Linked DNA regions of Homo sapiens: regions 2 and 3 are each linked to region 1. The links are contacts of gene promoters, found by promoter capture Hi-C in blood cells and fetal thymus (Javierre and others, 2016). All regions are on one chromosome and are shown on one strand. Each heading gives the region's core, a stretch centred on a gene start or on the middle of the fragment in contact. The rest is flanking DNA. Distances are from core to core; before and after follow the strand shown.

Region 1 (3,729 bases), core at 780-3,279:
CTCCGGTGTCTCTTCTTAGGAGGACACTAATCATAGCGGATCACGACCTCATTTAGTCTTAACTACTTTCTTACTCCAAATACATTACCATTGGATATTAGGTTTTGAAGACAAAATTTGAGGGGAACACACACAATTCAGTCCCCAGCACACTCACTTTGGGCTGCATTTCCAAATTCTCCCTGGCTACAATGGGCCTGAATTAGTAGCCCCTCTGTGTTAATACCCACAGCTGGGAGCGGCTCATGAGAAGCGTGGCCTCACCCAGAACACAATGCTGGATCCAGAGTGTAGCGGCTCATGAGAAGCATGGCCTCACCCAGAACACAATGCTGGATCCAGAGTGTAGCGGCTGGGGTAATCAGTCGTTATGCTCCCCACAGGAAATCTGAATGGCACATTCTCATGGCTGCCACAGGCTGACAACATGGAGCACCTATGCCTATTGTTACATTAGCAGGGCAGGTGGAATTGCTGGTCTCAGCTGTCACTTGCCTTAATAAACTGCATAATTCCATCAGGGACTCCAGTCTTGCTGAGCTTCCTGAGGTACTCGGTGATGTCACTGGTTTGCAGCCCAACGCTGACAGCTGCATACAAGGAGTAGGCAGTTAGTTTGTACTCATGCACATGGGTTGGTCGGCACACTGGCTCTGCAATAGCCACCAAGAAGTCTTGGGCATATTTGTAAACTGGAGAGAAGGCTTCCAAGAAGATATGGCCATCGGGAGCCTGAGAGATACCAAATGGACAAAACAGACAAGGAAACATGAGTTGCAGAGACTACTGGGCTCTTGCCCATATCATTATCAAGAAAGAATAAGCTGCCCAACACCACAGATATTCTTGCAAGCACTCCTTCAGACAACTGTGGGGCCTGTTACATTAATCAGATACAGAAGAGTAAAGAAAAATAGAAGAAAGTGTTTCCAAAGTCAACAGCTGTTTCCTACTATTCTGCACAGAGAAAGCCCATCTTACTGGCTATCCTCAAGTTACCTTTTGGCTAGATTTCAACTAAATGTATAACATTAATTATTTAAAGTAGAGCAAAAGCTTGCTACCGAACATGTCTTCCATTATTTGAGGAAACAAACTGTTACATGATAAATGCTATTTATTCGGCAGATAAAAGGATTCACTACATGGGGTAGGGCTGGGGAAGGAGTGAGAGTAAACCGAGGGGTTAGAGCTGTTGGAAGCCCAGGTCCGGCCGCCACACGTGTGCGCAACTGCTCGCTGTTGCCTTGGGCTGTTCCAACGTGTGTGGATGAAAATTCTCTCCCGGCCAGTTCTAGGGGCAGTATCCTGAATGTCAGTTTTGACTCTGAGGATGCCCAAGATTTAGCTGCCGCTCCGCACACTCCTGGGCCCTGCCCAAGCTAAGGGCATGCTTACCACCCAGAGGGGCCTGGAGGTGTGGTCGTCCTTCAGCGGCATTTGCAGCCTGTAGTCCTTGGCTCCATATTCATCCACTTTGGTGCCTGACTCATCCACCTGCTTCCCCGCCGCCGAGGGAACCGCTTCCTGAGGGTCGTTCCCCGGGGCGTCCTCTTCATCATCCTCTTCATCCTCATAGTGCCGCTTCCTGGATTTCTTCTTGTCTGCAAGATACCAACACAGAAGTAAGCCCAGCAGGAGCCTTCAGGGTTCCCTCCGCACCGCTTGGCAGCATTTCACCTGCGCCGCCGCAAACTCCTAGCTAAGAGCCACCTGCATCCCGCAGGCGTTGCGCCCCTCACCCGTCTCCCCTAGGCCGAGTTCGCTGGGCTGCGCCCAGGTCCAGCATCTCTCCCGCCCAAAGGCCTGTCCCAACGGGGTGCGCGCGGGAGGGCCAGCAGGGTCGGCCGGCGCAGAGGCCCGGAGCAGCTCCGAGGCAGAGCGGGGGGCAGGGCCGGCAAGGGCAGTCGTGGCTGAGCGTGCCCGCGCAACGTCTCACCGCGGTCCGCTCGGTCTCTTTTGCCCATGGCAGCTACAGCAGCAGAGAGAAGATGACCCCGCTCCCACAGGCCCGCCGCGGCATCCGCTCTGGGGGGACTTCCGGCTCAATCCGGAAGCTCCCTGTTGTCCACACAGGATGTCCCGCCTCTAGGCGCCGTGATGTGGGTGGCTGGAAGAGCGGAGAGCCAGCGACCGCCGATCTGTTAGCTCGTGCGACCCAGCGGCGGGGGTCCTCCACTGTTCATTTCTCTACAACTGAAGGAAAATACTGTGTGTTGAGCACCTGTGTAGTGCGCGAATTAAAGGCCTCATCCTTCTGGAACTTAAATTTTAATGAAGCCATGTGGGCAATAAATGTGTGTGTGAGAGAGAGAGAGAGAGAATGTGACCTGAGTCCATGGGTAAGGAAGAATTCTTTTTTTTAATTAAAAAAAATTTGGCTGAGCACGGTGGCTCACGCCTGTAATTCCAGCACTTTGGGAGGCTGAGGTGGGTGGATCACTTGAGGTCAGGAGTTCGAGGCCAGCCTGGCCAACATGGTGAAACCCCATCTCTGCGAAAAATACAAAAAAAAGTAGCCAGGCATGGTGGCACACGCCTGTAGTCTAAGCTACTTGGGAGGCTGAGATGGGAGAATCTCTTGAACCCAGAAGGTAAAGGCTGCACTGAGCTGAGATTGCACCACTGCACTACAGCCTGGGCGACAGGCCGAGAGTTCGTCTCAAAAAAAATTTTTTTCTTTTTTTTTTTTTTTTTTTTGAGACGGAGTCTCGCCCTGTCGCCCAGGCTGGAATGCAGTGGCGCGATTTCAGCTCACTGCAAGCTCCGCCTCCCGGGTTCATGCCATTCTCATGTCTCAGCCTAAATAAAGCAGATTACCCTCAATAATGCGGGTGGGCCTCATCCAAATCAGTTGAAGGCCTTAAGAGCAAAGACAGGTTTCTCAAGGAAAAAGGAATTCTGCCTCCAGACTGCAACACAGAAAGTTCTGACTGAGTTTCCAGCCTTTGGACTCAAAACTACAACATCAACTCGTACCTGAATTCCCAACTTGCCAACCCCCACAATTGCATGAGCCAATTCTTTAAAATCAATCAATCAATCTCGCTTGCTCAGTGGGCCTCTTGGTTCTGTTTCTCTGGAGAACGTAACACAGATTTTTGGTACGGGGAATAGGGTACTGCTGTAACAAATACCTAACAATGGGGAAGTGGTTTTCAAATTGGGTAATCGGTAGAGGCTGAAAGAATTTTGAGGCGCATGATAGAAAAGCCTCTATTGTCTTGAAGAGCCTTGGTAGAAGTATGGGCATTAAAGGTGATTCTGGTGACGGCTCAGATGGAAAGGAGAAATATGTTATTGAAACTGGAGGCAAGTGGTAGAGAGCTTGCCTGAATTGTATTCTGTTGGGTGGAAAGTAGAACTTATAAGTGATAAGCTTGGACATTTTGCTGAGGAAATTTCTACATGATGGTTCAAAGTGAGGCCTGGGCCAGGCGCGGTGGCTCACGCCTGTAATCCCAGCACTTTGGGAGGCCGAGGCAGGGGATCATAAGGTCAGGAGTTCAATACCAGCCTGGCCAATATGGTGAATCCCCGTCTCTACTAAAAATACAAAAATTAGCTGGGCGTGGTGTCGCGCGCCTGTAGTCTCAGCTGCTCAGGAGGCTGAGGCAGGAGGATCTCTTGAACTCAGGAGGCAGAAGTTGCAGTGAGCAGAGATCACGCCACTGCACTCCAGCCTGGGCAACAGAGCAAGACTCCGTCTCAAAAAAAAAAAAAAAAAAA
Region 2 (3,729 bases), core at 770-3,269, 400 kb after region 1:
CCCATCTCTACTAAAAATACAAAAATTAGCTGGGCATGGTGGCGCATGCTTGTAGTCCCAGCTACTCGGGAGGCTAAAGCATGATGATCGCTTGAACCTGGGAGGCAGAGGTTGCAGTGAGCCAAGATCGTGCCACTGCACTCCAGCCTGGATGACAGAGTGAGACTCCATCTCAAAAAAAAAAAAAATAGTGGTGAATTTTGTCAAATGCTTTTTCTATGTCTGTTGAAATGTCCATATGAGTTTTGTCCTTCAGTGTATTAATGTAGTGTATTACAGTGATTGATGTTAATATATTATACCAACCTTGCATTCCTGGGATAAATCCCACTTCAATGTGGTATATAATCCTTTGTATATGTTGCTGGATTAGGCTGCTAGTAATTAGTTGAGGATTTTTGTGTATATTCATAAGAGATGTTGGCTGTAATTTTTCATCCATCTCCTTTGTGCTGTTACTGTTAAATAACATTTTGACAAAATGTTGACACATATTACATTCCTATATGTGCATAGCCCATAAAAAGTTACATGCATATTTTCTTATGCAATTACTTTTTAGATCAGTTAAGAGGAGAAGAAGAAATATGCAATTATACTTTATATTGTAATTATCTACTTTTACCAACACTTTTGTTTTTCATGTGGATTCAAATTAGTTTCTGGTGTCACTTGCTTTCTATCTGAAAAACCTTAAATATTTCTTGTTACTCAGGACTGGTAGCAATAAATTCAGTCAGATTTTATTTATTTTGGAGTGCTTTTTATTTTGCCATTATTGTTGAAAGATAGTTTTGTTGGGTATGGAATTATTGGTTAACAGGTTTTTTGTTGTTGTTTTGTTTTTACTGTTAAGCACTTTGAACATGTCATACCACGGCTTTCTAGCCCCCATTGCTTCTGATGAGACATCATTTGTCAATATTATTGTACTACTGGTACACAATGAATTGTATTCCTTTTGCTGCATTTAAGATTTTATCTTTATCTTTGGCTTTCAAAATTTGACTATAATATGTCTGAGTGTGAATGCCTTTGTGTTCATCCTACTTGAAATTCATTGTTTCTCAGATGTTTAGAATAATGTTTTTCATCAAAGTTGGGGAAATTGGTCAGGCACAGTGGCTCTTGCCTTTAGGTGATGAGTAAGCTCAGGACTTTAGGAGGCTGAAGTGGGATGATCATTTGAGGCTAGGAGTTCAAGACCAGCCTAGGAAATACAGCAAGACCCTGTCTTTACAAAAAACTTGAAAATTAGCTGAGCATTGGGGTGCATGCCTGTAGTCCTAGCTACTTGGGAGGTTGAGGCAGGAAGAATGCTTGAGCCCAGGGAGTCAAAGTTAGAGTGAGCTATGCTTGTGCCACTGCCTTCCAGGCTGGGTGACAGAGCAAGACTCTTTCTATAAACATGATAATATTAATAAATTTTAAATAAATAAGCAAATAATTTGGGGAAATTTTCAGCCATTGTGCCTTCTAATAATTTTTATGTCCCTTTCTCTCACTTCTCTCCATTATTCTTATGTGTATTAGTCCATTTTTACATTGCTATAAAGAAATACCTGAGACTGGGTAATTTATAAAGAAAGGAGATTTAATTGGCTCACAGTTCTGCAGGCTGTACAGGAAGTGTGGCAGCATCTGCTTGGCTTCTGGGGAGGCCTTAGGAAACTTATACTCATGGCAGAAGGTGAAGGAGAAACAGGCACATCTTACATGGCCAGAGCAGAAGGAAAAGAGAAGGAGCAGGGAGGTGCTACTTTTTTTTTTTTTTTTGAGCTGGAGTCTCACTCTGGCCTAGGCTGGAGTGCAGTGGTGCAATCTCTGCTCACTGCAACCTCTGCCTCCCAGGTTCAAGTAATTCTCCTGCCTCAGCCTTCCAAGTAGCTGGGATTACAGGCACCCACCACCATACTCAACTAATTTTTGTGTTTTTAGTAAAGACAGGGTTTCACCATGTTGGCCAGGCTGGTCTTGAACTCCTGGCCTCAGGTGATCTGCCCCCCCTTAGCCCCCCAAAGTGCTGGGATTACAGGTGTGAGTCACTGTGCCTGGCCCAGACTTGTAAATGACCAGATTTTATGAGAACTCACTATTATGACTAAGGAGGATGGTGCTAAACCACTGGAAACTGCCCCCATGATCCAGTCACCTCCCACCAGGCCCCACCTCTAACACTGGGAATTATAATTTAACACGAGATTTGGGTGGGGACACAAACCATATCATTTTGCCGCCGGCCCCTCCCAAATCTCATGTCCTTCTGATATTTCAAAATATAATCATGCAGTCTCACAAAGTGTTAACTTATTCCAGCATTAACTCAAAAGTCCAAAATCTCATCTGAGACAAGGCAAGTTCCTTCCACCTATGAGCCTGTAAAATCAAAAACAAGTTAGTTACTTCCAATGGGGGTACAGTCATTGGTTAAATACTCCCATTCCAAAAGGGAGAAATCAGCCAAAAGAAAGGGGCTTCAGGCCCCATGCAAGTTCAAAACCCAGCAGGGTAGTCGTTCAATCTTAAAGGTCCAAAATAATCTCATTTGACACCATGCCCCACATCCAGGGGACACTAGTGTGAGAGCTGGGCTCCCAAGGCCTTGGGAAGCTCTCCCCCTGTGGCTTTGCAGGGTTCAGCCCACATGGCTGCTCTCAAGGGATGGTCTTGAGTGCCTGTGGCTTTTCCAGGTGCAGGATGCAAGCAGCCAGTGGATCTACCATTCTGAGGTCTGGAAGACAGAGGTCCTCATCTCACAGCTCCACTAGGTAGTCCCCCAGTGGGGAGTCTGTGTGGGGGCTCCAACCCCACATTTCCACACTGCCTTAGTAGAGGTTCTGTATGAGGGCTTTGCCCCTGCAGCAGGTTTCTGCCTGAACATCCAGGCATTTCCATACATCCTCTGAAATTTAGGCAGAGGCTCCCAAGCCTAAACTCTTGCATTCTGTGCACCTGCAGGCTTAACACCACATGAAAGTTGCCAAGTTTAATGGCTTGCACCCTCTGAAACAGTGGCCAGGGCCCCTTTCAGCCAGCTGGAGCTGGAGCAGCTGGGATGCAGGGAGTAGAGTCTCAAGGCTGTGCAGGGCAGCAGGGCCCTGGGCCTGACCTAGAAAACCATTCAGTCCTCTGAAGCATCCAGGCCTGTGCTGGGAGGGGCTGCCACGAAGGTCTCTGAAATGCCTTCTAGACCTTTTCCCCATTGTCTTGGCTATTAGCACTTGGGCTCCTCTTTACTTATGCAAATTTCTGCAGCCTGCTTGAATTCCTCCCCCGAAAATTAGCTTTTCTTTTCTACCACATGGCCAGGCTACAAATTTTCCAAACTTTTACACTCTGCTTCCCTTTTAAATATAAGTTCCAGGTTCAGGTCATTTCTTTGCTCACACATATGAGCGTAGGTTGTTAGAAGCAGCCAGGCCAATCCGTAAACACTTTGCAGCTTAAAAATTTCTTCCACCAGATACCCTAAATCATCACTCTCAAGTTCAGAGTGCCACAGATCCCTAGGGCAGGGGCACAACACCACCAGGTTCTGTTGCGAATATGTAACAAAGGTTATCTTTGCTCCAGTTCCCATTAAGTTCCTTATTTCCATCTGAGACCTCCTCACCCTGGCCTTCACTATCCATATTACTATCAGCATTTTGGTCACAACCATTTAACCAGTCCGTAGGGAGTTCCAAATTTCCCCTCATCTTCCTGTCTTCTTCTGAGCCCTCCAAACTC
Region 3 (3,729 bases), core at 379-2,878, 300 kb after region 1:
AAGCTGGGCCATGGGACCATCCGCCAGGCAAAGGCAGGAAACCATCTCTTCAAGGTGGGCTCCCAGGCACCCTCCTGGGTCTGTCACCCCTGATGGCTACAGGGCCAGACAGACATGTACAGGAAAGACTGTTTTACTCACCTCTGGGTCCACAGCATGCAGTTGGCACTTGGGAATCCTGCAATGGATGGATGGATGGGTGAATGGATGGGTGGGTGGATAGATGGGTGAGTGGGTGGATGGGTAGTGGGTGGGTGGATGGGTGAGTGGATGGATGGGTGGTGGGTGGGTGGATGGATGGGTGGGTGGATGGATGGGTGGGTGAGTGGATGGGTGGATGGGTGTGTGAGGGTGGATGGGTAAATGGATGTGTGGTTGGTTGGTTGGATGGATGGATGGATGAGTGGATGGATGGGTGAGTGGATGGACGGGTGAATGGGTGGTTGGGTGGATAGATGGGTGAGTGGGTGGATGGGTAGTGGATGGGTGGATGGATGGGTGAGTGAGTGGATGGGTGGTGGGTGGGTGGATGGATGGGTGGGTGAGTGGATGGGTGGATGGGTATGTAAGTGGATGGGTGAATGGGTGTGTCGATGGTTGGGTGGATGGGTGAGTGGGTGAATGGATAGATGGATGGGTGGGTGGCTGTGTGGATGGGTGAGTGGATGGACGGGTGGGTGGGTGGATGGGTGAATGGATGGGTGGATGGGTGAGTGGGTGGATGGATAGATGGACGGGCAGGTGGCTGTGTGGGTGGGTGAGTGGATGGATGGGTGGGTGGATGGGTGGGTGGGTGGATGGATAGATGGATGGGTGGGTGGCTGTGTGGATGGGTGAGTGGATGGATGGATGGGTGGGTGGAATGGTGAATGAATGGGTGCATGGGTGGGTGCATGTGGCAGCTTATATAAGGGGGTTTGGAGTGGGAATGGGAATCTGGGGGGTCCAGAGTTTAGATAGGAGAAGTGACTTTGTGCTGGGTAGATGGTGGGGGCCACGCCTGGGTAGAGGGGTGGAGAGCATGGCCTTAGTGGGGCCATGGGTGGATGGGTGAGTGGGTGGATGGGTGGTGAGTAGGTGGATGGATGGGTGAGTGGGTGGATGGGTGGTGCGTGGGTGGATGGATGAGTGGGTGCATGGGTGAATGGATGGGTGAATGGGTGGGTGGATGGGTGGGTGGGTGGATGGGTGAGAGGGTGGATGGATAGATGGATGGGCGGGTGGCTATGTGGGTTGGTGAGTGGATGGAAGGATGGATGGGTGGGTGGGTGGGTGAATGGATGGACGCATGGGTGGGTGGGTGGATGGGTGCTGGGTAGGTGGAAGGATGGGTGAGTGGGTGGATGGGTGGTGGGCGGGTGGATGGGTGGGTGGGTGGATGGATAGGTGTGTGAGTGGATGGGTGAAGGGGTGGGTGGATGGGTGAGTGGGTGGATGGATACATGGATGGGTGGGTGGGTGGATTCTTGAATAGGTAGATGCACCACCCCACCTGTGGGGCCTTGGCCGCAACCCTTGCTGGCCTACAGGGTCAGCTGTCCCAGGACATGGCTCCTGAGACCCACTTGTGCTCTGTGCTTCCATTCACAGTCTGCAGACTCAAATAAACGGCCCTCCACCTTAGGAAGCCAGTTCAAACAGTCTCTGGACCAGCTGATGAAAATCCTGACCAACTGCCAGCCTTACTTCATCCGCTGCATCAAACCTAATGAGTACAAGAAGCCGCTGGTAATGACAGGAGGCTGGGGCACAGCAAAGGAGGGAGGAGGAGGAGGCTGATGGCCTCTAGGGTTGTGGTCACTCCCTCTGCCAGGGCCTGGCTAGCGTTAGAGCTGTTACTGCCCCTACCTTACAGATAAGTACACTGGGGTAAGGTGACCAGACTAGGTCATGTGAAGGTCAGTGACCTGCAGAGCTTTGGGTTGCTGAGACCTCAGTTCCCTTAGCTCCGCCATGCATCTTCTGTGCGTTCTTGGCCTGGCTCTTTGCTGCTGTGAGCCTCAGTTTTCCCTTCTGTTAAGTCAGACTTGCTCCTGCCTGCAGGAATGCACTGAGGGTTGGACATGAGGTTTGCAGTACATGTCCCATATGTAAACCACACTCAACAAAGGCAGAAATCAGTAATAGGACTTTAGAGGCTGACACCACTCCTTTCACCAGCCCTGCAGACAGTCAGCTTTACCTGCTGTGAGACGGTGAGGGGGTGAGAGCCCACACTCCCTGCCCACAACGGAGTCCCTGCTCCATTGGGTGGGGAGTCCCACCCAGAGGCCGCATATGCAGGGATTCCCCAAACTAGGAGACATCAGCTGAAACAATATAAAATGGTTTTATCCCCATAAGGGAATAAAAATATTACATGAAATTAAATGCTTTTTGGAAAGAATAAAACTATGTGAAATCGAGTTTGATCTGGGTGCAGTAGCTCACGCTTGTAATCCCAGCACTTTGGGAGGCTGAGGCGGGAGGATTGCTTGAGGCAAGCCTGGGCAACATAGTAAGACCTTATCTCTGCAAAAAAATTTAAAAGTATAAAAATTAGCTAGGTATGGTGGTATGTGCCTGTAGTCTCAGCTACTCAGGAGGCTGAGGGAGGAGGATCACTTGAGCCCAGGAGGTCAAGGCTGCAGTGAACTATGATCACACCACTGCACTTCAGCCTGGGTGACAGAGCAAGACCTGTCTCTAAAAAAATAAAATGAGGCTTGCCTTATGAAATCTAGGTTGCATCTTCCTTGAAGGCAAAATAGGCAGATGTGAGATAACCTATCTTGTTCCTTAACTGCTGGGAGAAGTAGCTGGGCTCCCAGAGACCCTTGGCTCGTTCAGACCCTGCCTACCTTGGGAGCTGGGAGTTGCAGGACAGGCAGGCAGGCCTGAGGCTGAAGCTCGGGGGTTAAGAGTGCCTCTGGCTGGGATATCTCTCATTGGTGGCTGCTCAGGGTTCAAACCCAGGCTCAGCCCCTTAGAAGCAAAACCCTATGCCTCAGCACCTCATCTTTAAGTTGGAGCCAATCACCCCCACCAGGTAGGAATGTTGTAAAGATTCAGTGAGAAACACCAGGCCCATAGGAAATCGTCAGTGAAGCGCAGCTAAACACTTACCCGAGGCTAAGCTCAGTGTGGCCTGGACCCCACCAGCAGTTGGCGCTGTGACCCTGCAGGTGGGGTAACAGTGCCTGCTGGTGGGTTTGCCACATCAGAGGGCGTTCCCCAGGGTCCCTCAGAGACTCCTGGCTTGTAGGTGGAGAGGGGCTCTCTAGAATCCAAGCCATGGCAGAGTCTTGGAACCCCTGCTGAAGCCTGACACCCCAGGGAAGGACATCATGCCATTTCTCTGCCAGTCACACTCGCCTCAAAGCAAAAGACGGCTCAGCTCCCTGGGGCCAAAGGCCCTCCACTCCTCCGCCCCAGCCACTCCAGGTCTCACTCTGACCTCCATCTCCAGGGAGGGAGAGACTAAGTTGATTAGGATATTTTCTGCCTCTGAGTAGATTTATTTTTTCATTTAACTATTGTGAGGGAGGCACCATGAAACTGCAAGTGCCTGCGGGGCAGCTTTCCACCCCGACCTATGTAGGCAAGGGGCGCTTAAAAACATTTTAAACTGGGCCAGGCGCGGTGGCTCAGGCCTGTAATCCCAGCACTCTGGGACGCCAAGGCGGGCGGATCATTTGAGCTCAGGAGTTGGAGACCAGCCTGGCCAACATGGTGAAACTCCGTCTTTAA

Evidence for each region. Contacts are between HindIII fragments. The CHiCAGO score rates a contact against its expected background, and 5 or more counts as called.
Region 2: a fragment that was not itself captured here is called in contact with the fragment with the promoter of ERCC3 in region 1 in 4 of 17 cell types (neutrophils, megakaryocytes, erythroblasts and 1 more); the score reaches 5.7 in neutrophils.
Region 3: a fragment that was not itself captured here is called in contact with the fragment with the promoter of ERCC3 in region 1 in 1 of 17 cell types (neutrophils); the score reaches 5.6 in neutrophils.

Annotation. Positions count from the first base shown.
Region 1 is chr2:127,292,115-127,295,843 of GRCh38, forward strand. ERCC3 (ERCC excision repair 3, TFIIH core complex helicase subunit) reads right to left here and starts at 2,030. Exons shown (of 15, transcript NM_000122.2): 1 at 1,940-2,030; 2 at 1,399-1,604; 3 at 496-732. The coding sequence starts at 1,967. The HindIII fragment of the contact is 2,323 bases long and covers 1,055-3,377 here.
Region 2 is chr2:127,687,780-127,691,508 of GRCh38, forward strand. No RefSeq gene overlaps it. Among named protein-coding and RNA genes, the nearest start is that of SFT2D3, 12 kb to the right of the region's middle. The HindIII fragment of the contact is 6,533 bases long and covers 1-3,729 here.
Region 3 is chr2:127,588,502-127,592,230 of GRCh38, forward strand. MYO7B (myosin VIIB) reads left to right here. Exons shown (of 48, transcript NM_001393586.1): 15 at 1-54; 16 at 1,591-1,728. Among named protein-coding and RNA genes, the nearest start is that of MYO7B-AS1, 40 kb to the right of the region's middle. The HindIII fragment of the contact is 8,153 bases long and covers 1-3,729 here.